Linked DNA regions of Homo sapiens: region 2 is linked to region 1. Evidence: promoter capture Hi-C in 16 types of primary human blood cells and fetal thymus (Javierre and others, 2016). All regions are on one chromosome and are shown on one strand. Each heading gives the region's core, a stretch centred on a gene start or on the middle of the fragment in contact. The rest is flanking DNA. Distances are from core to core; before and after follow the strand shown.

Evidence for each region. Contacts are between HindIII fragments. The CHiCAGO score rates a contact against its expected background, and 5 or more counts as called.
Region 2: a contact is called between a fragment that was not itself captured here and the fragment with the promoter of MAP3K5-AS1 in region 1, in 1 of 17 cell types (naive CD8 T cells). The highest score is 5.2, in naive CD8 T cells.

The regions. Positions count from the first base shown.
Region 1 is chr6:136,627,021-136,633,243 of GRCh38, forward strand. It overlaps MAP3K5-AS1 (MAP3K5 antisense RNA 1), which reads left to right and starts at 2,094. Exons shown (of 3, transcript NR_125858.1): 1 at 2,094-2,256. All of the region lies in intron 14 of MAP3K5 (mitogen-activated protein kinase kinase kinase 5), which reads right to left. It also overlaps the pseudogene RNA5SP219. The HindIII fragment of the contact is 14,560 bases long and covers 1-6,223 here.
Region 2 is chr6:136,742,469-136,749,127 of GRCh38, forward strand. The region is part of intron 1 of MAP3K5 (mitogen-activated protein kinase kinase kinase 5); the gene reads right to left. Among named protein-coding and RNA genes, the nearest start is that of MAP3K5-AS2, 38 kb to the right of the region's middle. RefSeq lists an enhancer at 2,555-2,724. The HindIII fragment of the contact is 996 bases long and covers 4,765-5,760 here.

The sequences.
Region 1 (6,223 bases), core at 844-3,343:
ATACCAGTGTTATAAAGATATTACAGTATATTGTTAATATCCATGGAACATCCATTTGCTTTTTTTTAGCAGACATCTGGTAGCCACTGTCCTCTTAGAATTTTGTTTTTTTCCTTCTTTTACTATGTATTTCAAATTTATTGCCAACTGTTCTCAGATTTTTCTTCTTAAAATCTCACAAATCCATTTTACCTCCTTATTCTCACCGGAGTTGCCTCAGAATCTCTGTAGAAGTAGCACAGAAGAAAAGCACTTCTCTGCAAAAAAAAAGTTCAGAGGCTTTTCTCCTCTCTTGTTGCTCCATTCCCCAATTTATTCTCCACTAAATTGACAGTGAACTTTCCAAAGTCCAAAGTTCCACATGAACTTTCCATGTCAGTGCCACTGCATCTATTTTATTGGCAGCTTGTTACTTTCCGGATGAAATCCAAACTCCTTAGCACAGCATAAATGCCTGCTATGGTCTGAATGTTTGCGTACCCCCCTCTTCAGCGCCCTCAAAATCTGTATGTTGAAACCGAATCACAATGTATTAAGAGTTAGGCCCTTTAGAAGGTGATTAGGTCATGAGGCTAGAGCTCTCATGAATGGGATTAGTCCCCTTATGAAAGAGGCTTGAAGGAGCCTGGTTGAGCCTTCAGCCATGTGAGCACCCACAGAAGGTACCATCTAGAGGAAGTAGGCCCTCACCAGACACTGAATCTGCTGGTGCCTTGATCTTGGATTTCTCAGCCTCTGGAACTGTGAGCAAAGCATTTCTATTGGGTATAAATTACCCAGCCTAAGGCATTTTGTTATAGCGGCCTGGATGGACCAAGACAATGCCCTTCAAGATCTTACGGCTACCTCTGTCATCCTCGTCTGGACACTTGAGCTCTTCGAGACTTGGGACTTCATCCTTAATTACTCTATCCCCAGTTTTAGCATGTAGCTTGTAGTAGATGCTCAGTAATTATTTGCTTAACTAATTAATCAAGTTATAGAAAAATGTGATGAGAACTTTTTTAGAAAAGAACTAGATCCCAAAACAAAACATTTAGAGTCATTATTGGTTTATTCTTGGGTGAAAGCATTTTTCCAATAGATATATTTAAATCTTTTTTTTTTTTTAAAGAGTGTTTTGCTCTGTCGCCTAGGCCGGAGTGCAGTGGTGCCATCATAGCTCATTGCAGCCTTGAACTCCTAGGTTCAAGCAATCCTCCCACTTCAGCCTCCTCAACAGCTGGGACTTCAGGTGTACAGCACTATGTCCAGCTAATTTTTTCTATTTTTTGTAGAGATGGGGTCTTGCTATGTTGCCCAGGCTGGCCTTGAACTCCTGGCCTCAACTGATCCTGCTGCCTCGGCCTCCCAACCACTGGGAGTACAGGTGGGAGCCATCATACTCAGCAGTTTTTTTTTTTAAAGAGATGGAGTCCTGCTATGTTACCCAGGCTGGACTCAAAGTCCTGGGCTCAAGTGATCCTCCCAAATAGCTGGGACTCAGGTGCACACCACCAGGTCCAGCTCTACAACAGGTATGCTTATATAGAAGAGTGAAGAATACATAAACCTTGATGAGGCTGCTAAAGTTTTAATTTCCCCTAGGAATCTAAGGCATCAGAAGACTATTTTTTAAAAGATTACGTATTAGATACAGATTTAAAAGATTATGTATTAGATATAGAAGATTAGATATAGAAGCTGACTCCTGTTAAACAAAATGGTGATAGTAAAATGAAAAGGAATTGTAAAAAGAGCAGTGTTATTTAAGTAAAACCATCTCTGTGGGTAATTGCTGCTTTGTTTTTCTATCTCCCCTTTCTATTCTTACGAGATAAAGATAGAAATTGAAATGGCAGTTTTGAAAGAAAGCTGAAAAGAAACAAGAGACTGGTTCAGCCTAGAAGGACAGAGAATCATCTATGTAATGTCCAGGAATAGTAGAAGAGAGGGTTTTAAAAAATAAAAGGTAACATTACATTGCTTATATATTTTGCATTCTATTTCTATGGTAATAGGTTAGCAAATCAGGTTGTTGCTAAGGGAAACAAGAATTTCATTCTGAGGCAATCATGAGAATTTTTCTAGAATCATCTCTTTATTGCTGTCTGCTCAGAACAATCAAAACTGGTAGCGGGAAGAGAATCAGTGTAGGAAGGCAACATTGACAAGGCCAAACAACGAAGTGGTGACTCACTGAGTCCTTGCACTCTCGAAGGAAACAACCACCTTAGAAAAAACCATGCACTTTCGGCGGGGGCTTAATCACATTAGGTGAGTAATCACCTCAAAGACCCAAATGGCAGCTCTGTTAATGTTCAGTCTGTATGGCCTTCTTTATATGTAAATGCCAAAACATTAATAACTACTAATAACATTAATAGAATGCCAAAAACACTGCAGGTACAAATATCTAGTGTGATGGATCTCTCCTCCCTTAGATCTTTACTCACATCTCACCTTTTTTTTTGAGAAGGAGTCACGCTCTGTCGCCCAGGCTGGAGTGCAGTGGCACAATCTCAGCTCGCTGCAAGCTCCGCCTCCCAGGTTCACGCCATTCTCCTGCCTCAGCCTCCCGAGCAGCTGGGACTACAGGTGCCCGCCACCACACCCAGCTAATTTTTTGTATTTTTAGTAGAGATGGGCTTTCACCTTGTTAGCCAGGATGGTCTCAATCTCCTGACCTCATGATCCACCCGCCTTGGTCTCCCAAAGTGCTGAGATTACAGGTGTGAGCCATGGCGCCCGGCCATATCTCACCTTCATTTATTTATTTATTTATTTATTTATTTATTTATTTATTTATTTAGAGTCTCACTCTGTCGCCCAGGCTGGAGTGCCTAGGTTCAAGCGATTCTCCTGCTTTAGCCTCCCGAGTAGCTGGGATTACAGGCGCTTGCCACCATGCCCGGCTAATTTTTGTATTTTCAGTAGAGATGGGGTTTCGCCATTTTAGCCAGGTTGGTCTCAAACTCCTGACCTCAAACAATCCAACTCCTCTGCCTCCCAAAGTGCTGGGATTACAGGCATGAGCCACCACACCCGGCCTAAATCTTACCTTCTTAATGAGCTTCCCAGGCCTTCCTATCTAAAATTGCACGTCCCTGCTACACTGTAACTTCCTAAACCCTTCCCTGGTTTATTATTCTCCTTAACCCTGATCACCATCTAACATACTATAGATGGTATTTTACTTATTTGTGTTTATTGTCCGTCTCTCATTAGAAAGTAACCTGAGTCTACAGCTATACCACCCTGAATGCGTCCAATCTCTTCTGATCTCGGAAGCTAAGCAGAGTTGGGCCCGATTAAGACTTAGATGAGAGCATGTAAGCTCTCAGTGATAGCAGGAATTTCTCTCCATTTTGTTCTCTGCCATCTCTCCAGCACATGGAATGGTGCCTACCATTCAATAGCTGTCCAAAAATATGTGAGTGCATTAGTGAGATCCATTTGGACCCACTGATGTGGATGAAGATGATTTTAGGCTGAAAACATCAGAAAAACAGCAGCAGCAGAAAAAAACCTTATCTAAATTTCTTTTGCGGACATAAGCAATGCCTCCTAAAATACATCTGCCATTTATTTCCTCTCCAGGAGGTTAATGACCAAAGAGGAGATAGACCACTTGCACCTAGAGGAGATGTTGCATAAACAAAACCTTATCAAAACTTTCTGTTCCTCACACTTATTTCTCATTAGTCTCCCACCATACACTTTCTTAAAGTCTTAACCCTCTTTCTTACTAAGATGATATATAAACACTCAACTCTAGCTGTTTAGGGAGCCAATTCTTTGTGTAAGTCTCTTTCATTGACTTAGCATTGACTACATGAATAAATTTTGGCTAGGCATGGTGGCTCACATCTGTAATCTCTGCATTTTGGGAGGCCAAGGCAGCAGCTTAGGCAACATGGTGAAACCCTGTCTCTATAAAAAGCACAAAAATTAGTCAGGCATGGTGGTGCACACCTTAGTCCCAGCTACTCAGAAGGCTGAGGTGGGAGGATCGCTTGAGCCCAAGAGATAGAGGCTGCAATGAGCCGAGATCACACCACTGCACTCCAGCCTGGGGGACAGAGGGAGATTCTGTTTCAAAAATAAAACAAAACAAAAGAATAAAGTTTGTCTGCTCTCCTGTCAACTTGTCTTTTGTCAGTTAATTTGCAGGCCCCTGACCATTGAACATAAGCTGGTACAAGAAAAAGGCTTTTCCCCGTTCCCAACAGAATGAATGAATGAATAACAAATTGATACTCATATCATACAACACTATAAGTGATGTATTTTCTCAGGCAGGGAAGTAACTGTGGGTATTCAGCTTCATATCTGCACAAAAATAGAAATAGGATGTTAAAAAAGAGTTTGCTACATGATGATTCCAAACTGACTAAAATAAATTCTGAACCATAATTACTAAGGTATATGAGGCCAATCATCAGAAAAGAAAACAGTAAGGTCTTCCATCTTCCTGCAGATATTTGAGTCAAATGAAAATAATGTCACTTTTTTTTTTCTTTTTTTTTTTTAGACAGGGTCTGGCTCTGTCACCAAGGCTGGAGTGCAGTGGCGCAATCCTAGCTCACTGCAGCCTTGACCTCTCGGGCTCAAGCAGAGAGGTCCATATGGATTGGAGGCCTTCTCCCATCCATATCTCTCTCCTCCCAGTTTGAGATATTAGGTTGGTGCAAAAGTAATTGTGGTTTTTGCCATTATTGCTACAACCTAATATTAAAACAACTCTGATTTTGTCACTGCCCAGCTTCAAACCCTTCAGATTGAATCTCTTTTACTTGGACACCTGGCACCATGTGAGCTCATGTGATTAAAAAGGGCAAAAAGCCACCATCCTGCCATGGGACATTAACAGTCCAGTCCAGTGCAGGCTACCAGATTACAATGCATGGAGAAGAGCTAGGCCAGAGGAGTGGGCCAAAATGCTAAGAGAACAGAGAAAAGCAAGAAGGGGAGTTGAGAAATGATTCAAAGAGAAAAGGACACAGGACCTGGATCTGAAAAATTAAGGCTTTGGTCACTAAGTGGGACTGAGGAGAAAAGTTTGTGAGGTTGGGCGTCTGCATGTCAAGCCCAGAGGCCGGAGAAGCATGGCCACCTGGAAAGTGGAAAGGAGGCTGGCACCGCTGGACCACAGAGTGGAAAGGAAAGGGGAAGCTACAGCCAGAGGGGGTGAGAATGTTGTATGGTGCAAATACTTCCTTCTACAAAAAGGAGCATCAGCTGGGCATGGTGGCTCGTGTCCGTAATCCCAGCATTTTGGGAGGCCAAGGCAGGCAGATCACTTGAGGTCAGGAATTCAAAGCCAGCCTGGCCAACATGGTGAAACTCCATACTAAAAATATAAAAATTAGCTGGGCATGGTGGTGCATGCCTGTAGTCCCAGCTACTTAGGAGGCTGAGGCAGGAGAATTGCTTGAACCTAGGAGGCGGAGGTTGCAGTGAGCCGAGATTGCGCCACTGCTCTCCCACCTGGGTGACAGAGTGAGACTCTGTATCAAAAAACAAAAAGGAGCATCAAAGGTTTTTAATCTGGGGAGTCGCAGGATTAAATCTGTATGAGAGATTTCTCTGATGATAACAGAGACAAAGCATGAGACATGTTAGGCTATGATAGAGGATGAAGACCTGAGATCAGGGGAGTGACCAAGAAGATGAAATGAAGGGGCTGCAGGAAAGAACGGGCATGAGGGATTAAGACGGGTTTGGGAGGGGTTTCTCAGGAATCTGGCTTGGGTTGCTGGATGCCTTTACTTTTAATGAAGACATGGAAGGCAGGAAGAAGAACAATGGAGACCAAGGCTGGTTAACTCTGATCAATTGTTTGATGATTTCAATATAAAAGTATTATAATAATAACATATTAAAATACTTGAGATATGAGTTCATTACCCTTCCACGTCAAAATACATCCTTGAGTCAAAAAACATAGCCTTGAATCAAAAGAAATTGATTTTCTTTCTGTTAAAAGACAGAAAATCCTTCTCTGAGAAGTGGTATTGCATTATATTTGAAATAACCTTGTACAATTTATACCAATCTTGAATATTATTTTAAAAATTAGAGGTAGGAAAAGACATTAAAGATCCTCTTGCTCTTGGCCAGGCGCAGTGGCTCACGCCTATAATCCCAGCACTTTGGGAGGCCGAGGTGGGTAGATCACCTGAGGTCAGATGTTCAAGACCAGCCTGGCCAACATGGTGAAACCCTGTCTCTACTGAAAATA
Region 2 (6,659 bases), core at 4,013-6,512, 120 kb after region 1:
GATACAGACCTTACACCCTCTGCAGAAATTAACTCAAATGGATCATAGTTCTAAATGTAAAATGAAAAACTATAAAACTCCTGGAAAATAACATAGAAGAAAATCTAAATGACCATTGGTATCATCATAACTTTTTAGATACAATATCAAAGGCATAATAAAAGAATTATAAGCTGGACTTTATTAAAACTAAAAATTTCTGCTCAGCAAAAAAAATTGTCAAGACTGTGAAGAGAATGAGAAGACAAGCCACAGACTGAGAGAATATATTTGCAAAAGACATATCTGTTAAAGAGTGTTATCCAAAATATACAAAGAATACTTAAAACTAAAAAATAAGAAAACAAACGATGAGATTAAAAAATGGGCCAAAGACCTGAATGGATACCTCATCAAAGAAGATATACAGATAGCAAGTAAGCATATGAAAACATGTTCATGGGGCCAGGCAAAGTGGCTCACTGTTGTAATCCCAGCACTTGGGGAGGCCAAGGCAGGAGGATCACTTAAGGCCAGGAGTCATGGTAGAAGGACTACCTGAGCCCAGAAAGCTGAAGGCTGCAGTGAGCTATGCTCATGACACTGCACTCCAGCCTGGGTGACAGAGACCTTGTCTCTAAAAAAAAAGAAAAAGAAAAAGAACAAAAGATGCTCAACATCATCTGTCATCAGGGAATTGCAAATTAAAACATTAAGATACGGCTGGGCGCAGTGGCTCACGCCTGTAATCCCAGCACTTTGGGAGGCCGAGGCGGGTAGATCATGAGGTCACGAAATCGAGACCATCCTGGCTAACACGGTGAAACCCCGTGTCTACTAAAAATACAAAAAATTAGCCGGGCATGGTGGCAGGCACCTGTAGTCCCAGCTACTCGGGAGGCTGAGGCAGGAGAATGGCATGAACCCGGGAGGCGGAGGTTGCAGTGAGCCAAGATCGCGAAACTGCACTCCAGCCTGGGTAACAGAGCAAGACTCTGTCTCAAAACAAAAACAAAAACAAAAAAAAAATTGAGATACCACTACACACCTATTCGAATGGCTGAAATCCAAAACACTGACGCCATCAAAGGCCAGTAAGGATGTGGAACCACAGGAAGTCTCATTCATTGATAATGGGAATGCAAAATGATACAGCCACTTTGCAAGACAGTCTGGTGGTTTATGATAAAACTAAACGTTTATACTATTGCTATACAACCCACCATTTGCACTCCTTGGTATTTACCCAAATGAAGTGAATTATTATGTCCACACAAAACTTGCACACAGATGTGTATAACAGCTTTATTCATAATTGCTAAAACTTGGAAGCAACCAAGATGTCTTTCAGGATGTAAGTGGATAAATAAACTGTGGTACAGACAGACAATTCATTATTATTTAGGGCTAAAAAGAAATGAGCCATCAAGCCATGAAAGGACACGAAGGAAACTTAAATGTACACTGTTAAGTGAAAGAAGCCAGTATGAAAAGGCTGTGACATTCTGAAAAAGAGAAACTATGGAAAAAGCAAAAGGATAAGTGGTTGCCAAGGGTTGTGAGGAGGGATGAATAGGCAGAGAACCAAGATTTTTAGGGCAGTGCAACTATGCTGTACAATATACTACTATAATTGTGGATACATGTCATTATACATTTGTCCAAACCCATAAAATACACAACACCAAGAATGAACCCTAATGTAAGCTATGGGCATCAGGTGATAATGATGTGTCAATGTAAGGTTCACCAATTGTAACAAATGCACCACTCTAGATCAGTATATTAACAGCAGAGGAGGCTGTGTTTGTGGGAGGGTAAGGAGTTTATGGGCAGTCTCTGTACCTTCTGCTGAGTTTTGCTGTAAATCTAAAACCGCTCTGAAATACACATATATATGTATATATACACGTGTGTGTACATACATATATACATATATATATGTATATATGAGAACCCTTGACTCTCCCATGCCCAGAAAAGTCTCTGTTCATGGTGTCAGGGTTATAAGGAAGGCTCCTGACACTTTGACAGAAGCCAAAGAACTCCCACAGATATCTTGAGATTGTGCTGGAAGGAGGACCTAGTCCATGCCACCACAGTTTGGAAATCAGCAGCTCCCAATCCAGCAGCAGAAAGTAGAACTTCCAACCCCATGCACTCCAACATGGACAGGTATCCACACCTTGCACACCCCTCACCAGCACCTACACCAGGGAGTTCTGGTTAGAGAAGTTACGGCTCAATGAAGTGCAGCTGCAAAGCCTAGTCACTTAAAGAATAATTCACAGCCTTGGCTGCACATTGTAATCACCTGGGGGCTTTGAAAAGCAGCAAGTCTGAGTCCTCAGCCCAGAGATCCTAATTTACTTGGTCTGGGGTGTAGGGTGGCCATCAGGATTTTTGGAATCAGGTGATTCTAATTTTCAATAAGACTAAGAACCACAGATTTGGAAGCTGATTTAAAGACACTCATCCATCAACCATGCCGCAGAGCACCGACTGCTTATTTTAGCATTTTGATCCATTATCATGCTCCTTAGAAATTCTGGCAACAAATATTCATTTTCACATTAATGGAAATAAATTGCTCTTAAAATGAAGACCAGTGTAAGTGGTATTTGGCTGGAACATAATGTTTCCTGTTCAGAATACTGACAGGGCAGCAGCGGGCATACACTTGGCAGTCATTAAAGTTTTTTTTTTTTTTTTTTTTTTGAGCAACTTAATTGGAGCTTCGGCATCTATTATGTATCTTGTTTAGAAAAGTTCCTTTAAATTGAATAGACGAAGATGACTATTTTTCCCTTTCCTATATCAGAGTATTAAAAATGGGATAAATATAATCATGTATTTCACCAACACAAATTGTTGGGAAGAAAATTAATTTTCTCTCCATGTTCAACTCTCAACACACGAATACACTTTTTGAAAATACAAGAACACTGACGTGACCTAGAAAAAAGGTTTTGTCAGGGCACTCAAAGAGTTAAAGGAAAGGCCGGCCAGCTCCCTGCCTCTGGCTGCTGTGGCAGGGAGGAGGATGCTGGGAACGCTCCCCACTGAATGGCTCTTTCTCCCCTTCTTTGAGCTGGGAGTAGAGGAATGCAGTGACTCCCAGCACACCTACCATCCTGCCCATGAACATCACAAGACCCTGTTCACAGGGTGGACTCTAAAAATAAAATTCCTTGTGCCGCTGCCTGTGCCTCAGTTTTTCTGCAGGCATTCTGCATGTTTCCGCTGCTTGTTTGTTCAAAGCCTTCCAGCTACACACACAGAAGAAGGGCCCGTGGACATGAAAAAGAGCTCACATCTGTATCTGCTACTTAACAATATTTTCAATAAAGGCATAGATAATGTCTTTTTTGGTAGCAAGAAATTTAATCTAGATAATTCCGAGGAGAGTTAGCATAACCCAGAGATTTCTTAGTCACGTTCCAAAGTCTCATCCTAACGTTAGCTTAATGTCTAACATTGCTTCTCCCTTAAACCCAGATTGATTCTGCTTATGGGATGTTAGTTGGTAAGGAGCATGCATAGCCTGGAAACAGGGTCAAGAGAAGAAGCAGGAAGACTAGTTAGGAGACAGCTGCATGGGTCCAGGTGCGAAATGCTGATGATGTTTGAACTAGGATGGTGGCAGTTTTGGAAGAGTGTCAGATACTTCAAATGATTTAATATCTTAACTCTTGACTTCCCCAATAGAACAAATACCAACTATGGTAAATACAGCAGGTTTATGGCTTAATGTTCAAGTTAATAAGTATTCTCTAGGTTTACAGAATGAAAAAACCAGACATAAAGGACTCAAATGAAATAAATTTCATAAAATTTTGAGGGGGGGGCAGGAAAATACAAATACGTTCATGTCTGTAGGTCTGTGAAAAACGATACAGGTGGAAGATAATCTTACCTGTAATAACATGATGTCTGACTATGAGCTATTAGTTACAACTTAATTATTGACCCAGGAATTTCTATGTACTGTTCTATGGAAGTATTTGGGTCTCTTTAAATGAAAATGACTAGCGAGGCACTGAACATCACGGAAAGAATGCCGGATACACAATTGAAAGTGGTATGCATTTTAATAACTATCCTAGAAGAAAGCTATGGCCCCACCACACAGAGAAAACCATGCAGGGTTCTAATACCCACGAGAGAGGGAGACAAAATCTATGTATAATCATGGTTTAACAGGGGAAAAAAAACAATTTGAGTATGCATAACAATATTCTTTCCTTTTTGCAATAAAAAAGCAATAAGGATTAGTGAGAAAAATTAGGGGAAATCCCCCAGTCCTCTTTCTGACCCCTACTCTTCAGTACCTCTGGTGGCCTTGGTTTGAACACCGTCTGTGCTCTAAGAATGGTCAGTTTGCTACATACAGTTGAAAGAATTACACTTCTTGTTAGAATATTCAAATTCTTTAAAAATGTATTTTTTATACAAATGCAAAATCTGTCTCTAACTTCTACTGATTCACTGCTTCAATTTTCTTTCGTTTTTTTGAGAGACAGGGTCTTGCTCTCTCAATCATAACTCACTGCAGCCTCAAACTCCTGGACTCAAGGGATCCTCCCACTTCAGCCTCCCCAGTAGCTGGGATTATAAGCACGCGCCACCATGTCTAGCTAATTTTTAAATCTTTGTAGAGGCAGGGTCTTGCTACATTGCCCAGGCTGGTTTTGAACTCCTGGTCTTATTGGCCTCCCAAAGTGCTGGGATTACAGGCATGAGTTGCCATGTCTGGCCCATTGCTTCTATTTTCTGCTTTCCTAAAGCTTCACTGAAAAACTCAAATTCCTTCTCTTCCAGAAACCTTCAGACACTTAAGAACAGTAATCCTGGCATCCATGACATTTTCTTATCCAGGTTACAACATCTCTGGTCCCTTCATAGGGCAGCAGGGCTTCTAGTCCTGTTAGTACGGGTGCTGTCTAGATACACTCTGGCCAAAGAATGTACAGGGAGCCAATGCCCATTAAAAGAATTTTCTGGGGCGAAACAAACTATAACTCTAAAAGGAACCAACAGAACCGAAAACCCACCACAATAGTATATGCTGGAAATGTACAGCAAAGGCTGAGAAGCCTGGTGCATGTTTAGCTATTAACAGGTCATGAGTGTCTTTTGCAAGACTGGCAGATTAAAAACAATGGATTGAAGAATAAGTGGGAGGTTATGAGGCAAAAATTGTGAGTTCAGACTAGTGTTCTCAAATTTAATGTGTACATGAATCACCAGGATATTGTGTCAAAAAAGAGATTCTGATTGAGCTGTGTGACATTGGGGTGATGATTACCTTTCTCATAAGCACCCAGTTGATGCCCATGCTGCTGTGTAGGGACCACATTTTGAGTAGCAAGGGTGTAGACTATTGTCAAGTGATCTCCAAGCAGCGGCCATATTGTAAATCCATAAACAGGGTAAAAAGGAATGCTTTCAGCATACAATGAAGCCAACTTTAGCCAACAGGGAAAATATTGCTGTATTTAAGAACCTAGGTCTATCAGATATATGGTGGTTCTTTGGAGGCCATTATTTATTACCATGATCTAAGAGATGGATTTCAAAATGATCTCTAAAAAAAAACAAAATTTCCATTTTCTGCCCCAAAGTGAGAAATCCTAAATAAAGCAGTATTCCTTGAGTCATCTGTAGAGCTGTGAATGTGTCCATGTAGGCATAGAGTATACAATATTATCCATTTCACATCCTTAGTCAGTGGACTTAATCCCACTTTTCTGAATCAGGTGTGGATTATCTTGGTTGACAAGCTTCTCAAATGTATTCAGATAAAGAAGGCACTTGGAAAAATGTCAATATTTATCACTACACAGCCACATTTGAACCGTATTAATTTATACCTAGTGTTCCATTATTGGAACACCAAGCATGTAGGAGTTATTTATATCCTACTGCTCAAGGTCATCACCAAGGTCTGATTGCAAAAATTCAAAAAATTGCAACCTCAGTCATAAATGGGTTAAAATCCCCCAAAATGTCTATATATGTATGCTCACACAAATATGTATTTGTTCAGGAAAAAAAATGAAGAAAATTGTTCTAAAAATATGGGGGAGTGTTCTTCGCAAAACATATGCAAAGACAAGACACAGGGCAAATAAAACCTGAGAAAATATACAAAAGACTATAAGATTAGTTTCTTGAAGAATAAAGATGCAATTAAATTACAGAATTTAACACCTGGCATGGTACAATAAGATACCTTAGAAATAAAGAATTAAAACTTGAAGGCAAGTTTTTAGAAGTTAAAAGTTGAAGTACATGTTTTGTAGAAATTGTGGTCAAAGGTAAGAGAATAACTTCTAAGAAATGAGTGTAAAATATTGTAAAACAGCTTTAACTAGGTAGCTTTAACTAGATTAACACTGACTAAGGCTCTTGGATAACTGCATAGGCAATTCATTTTGTATAATTAAGGAGAAGAAAATCAGCCAGTGGCTGTTGTTTTACTCAGCATCTTTCAGATACAGTTATAGATAAATTCCTGATTTTAGTTAAGAAATAAAACTGGAACAAGAAAGAAAATTATATAATATGCTCAAAACTTATAGTCAAATTGCCTTAATTATTAGGACTGGCCGGGCACAGTGGCTCATGCCTATAATCCCAGTACTTTGAGAGGCCAAAGCTGTTGTCACCTGGAGAAG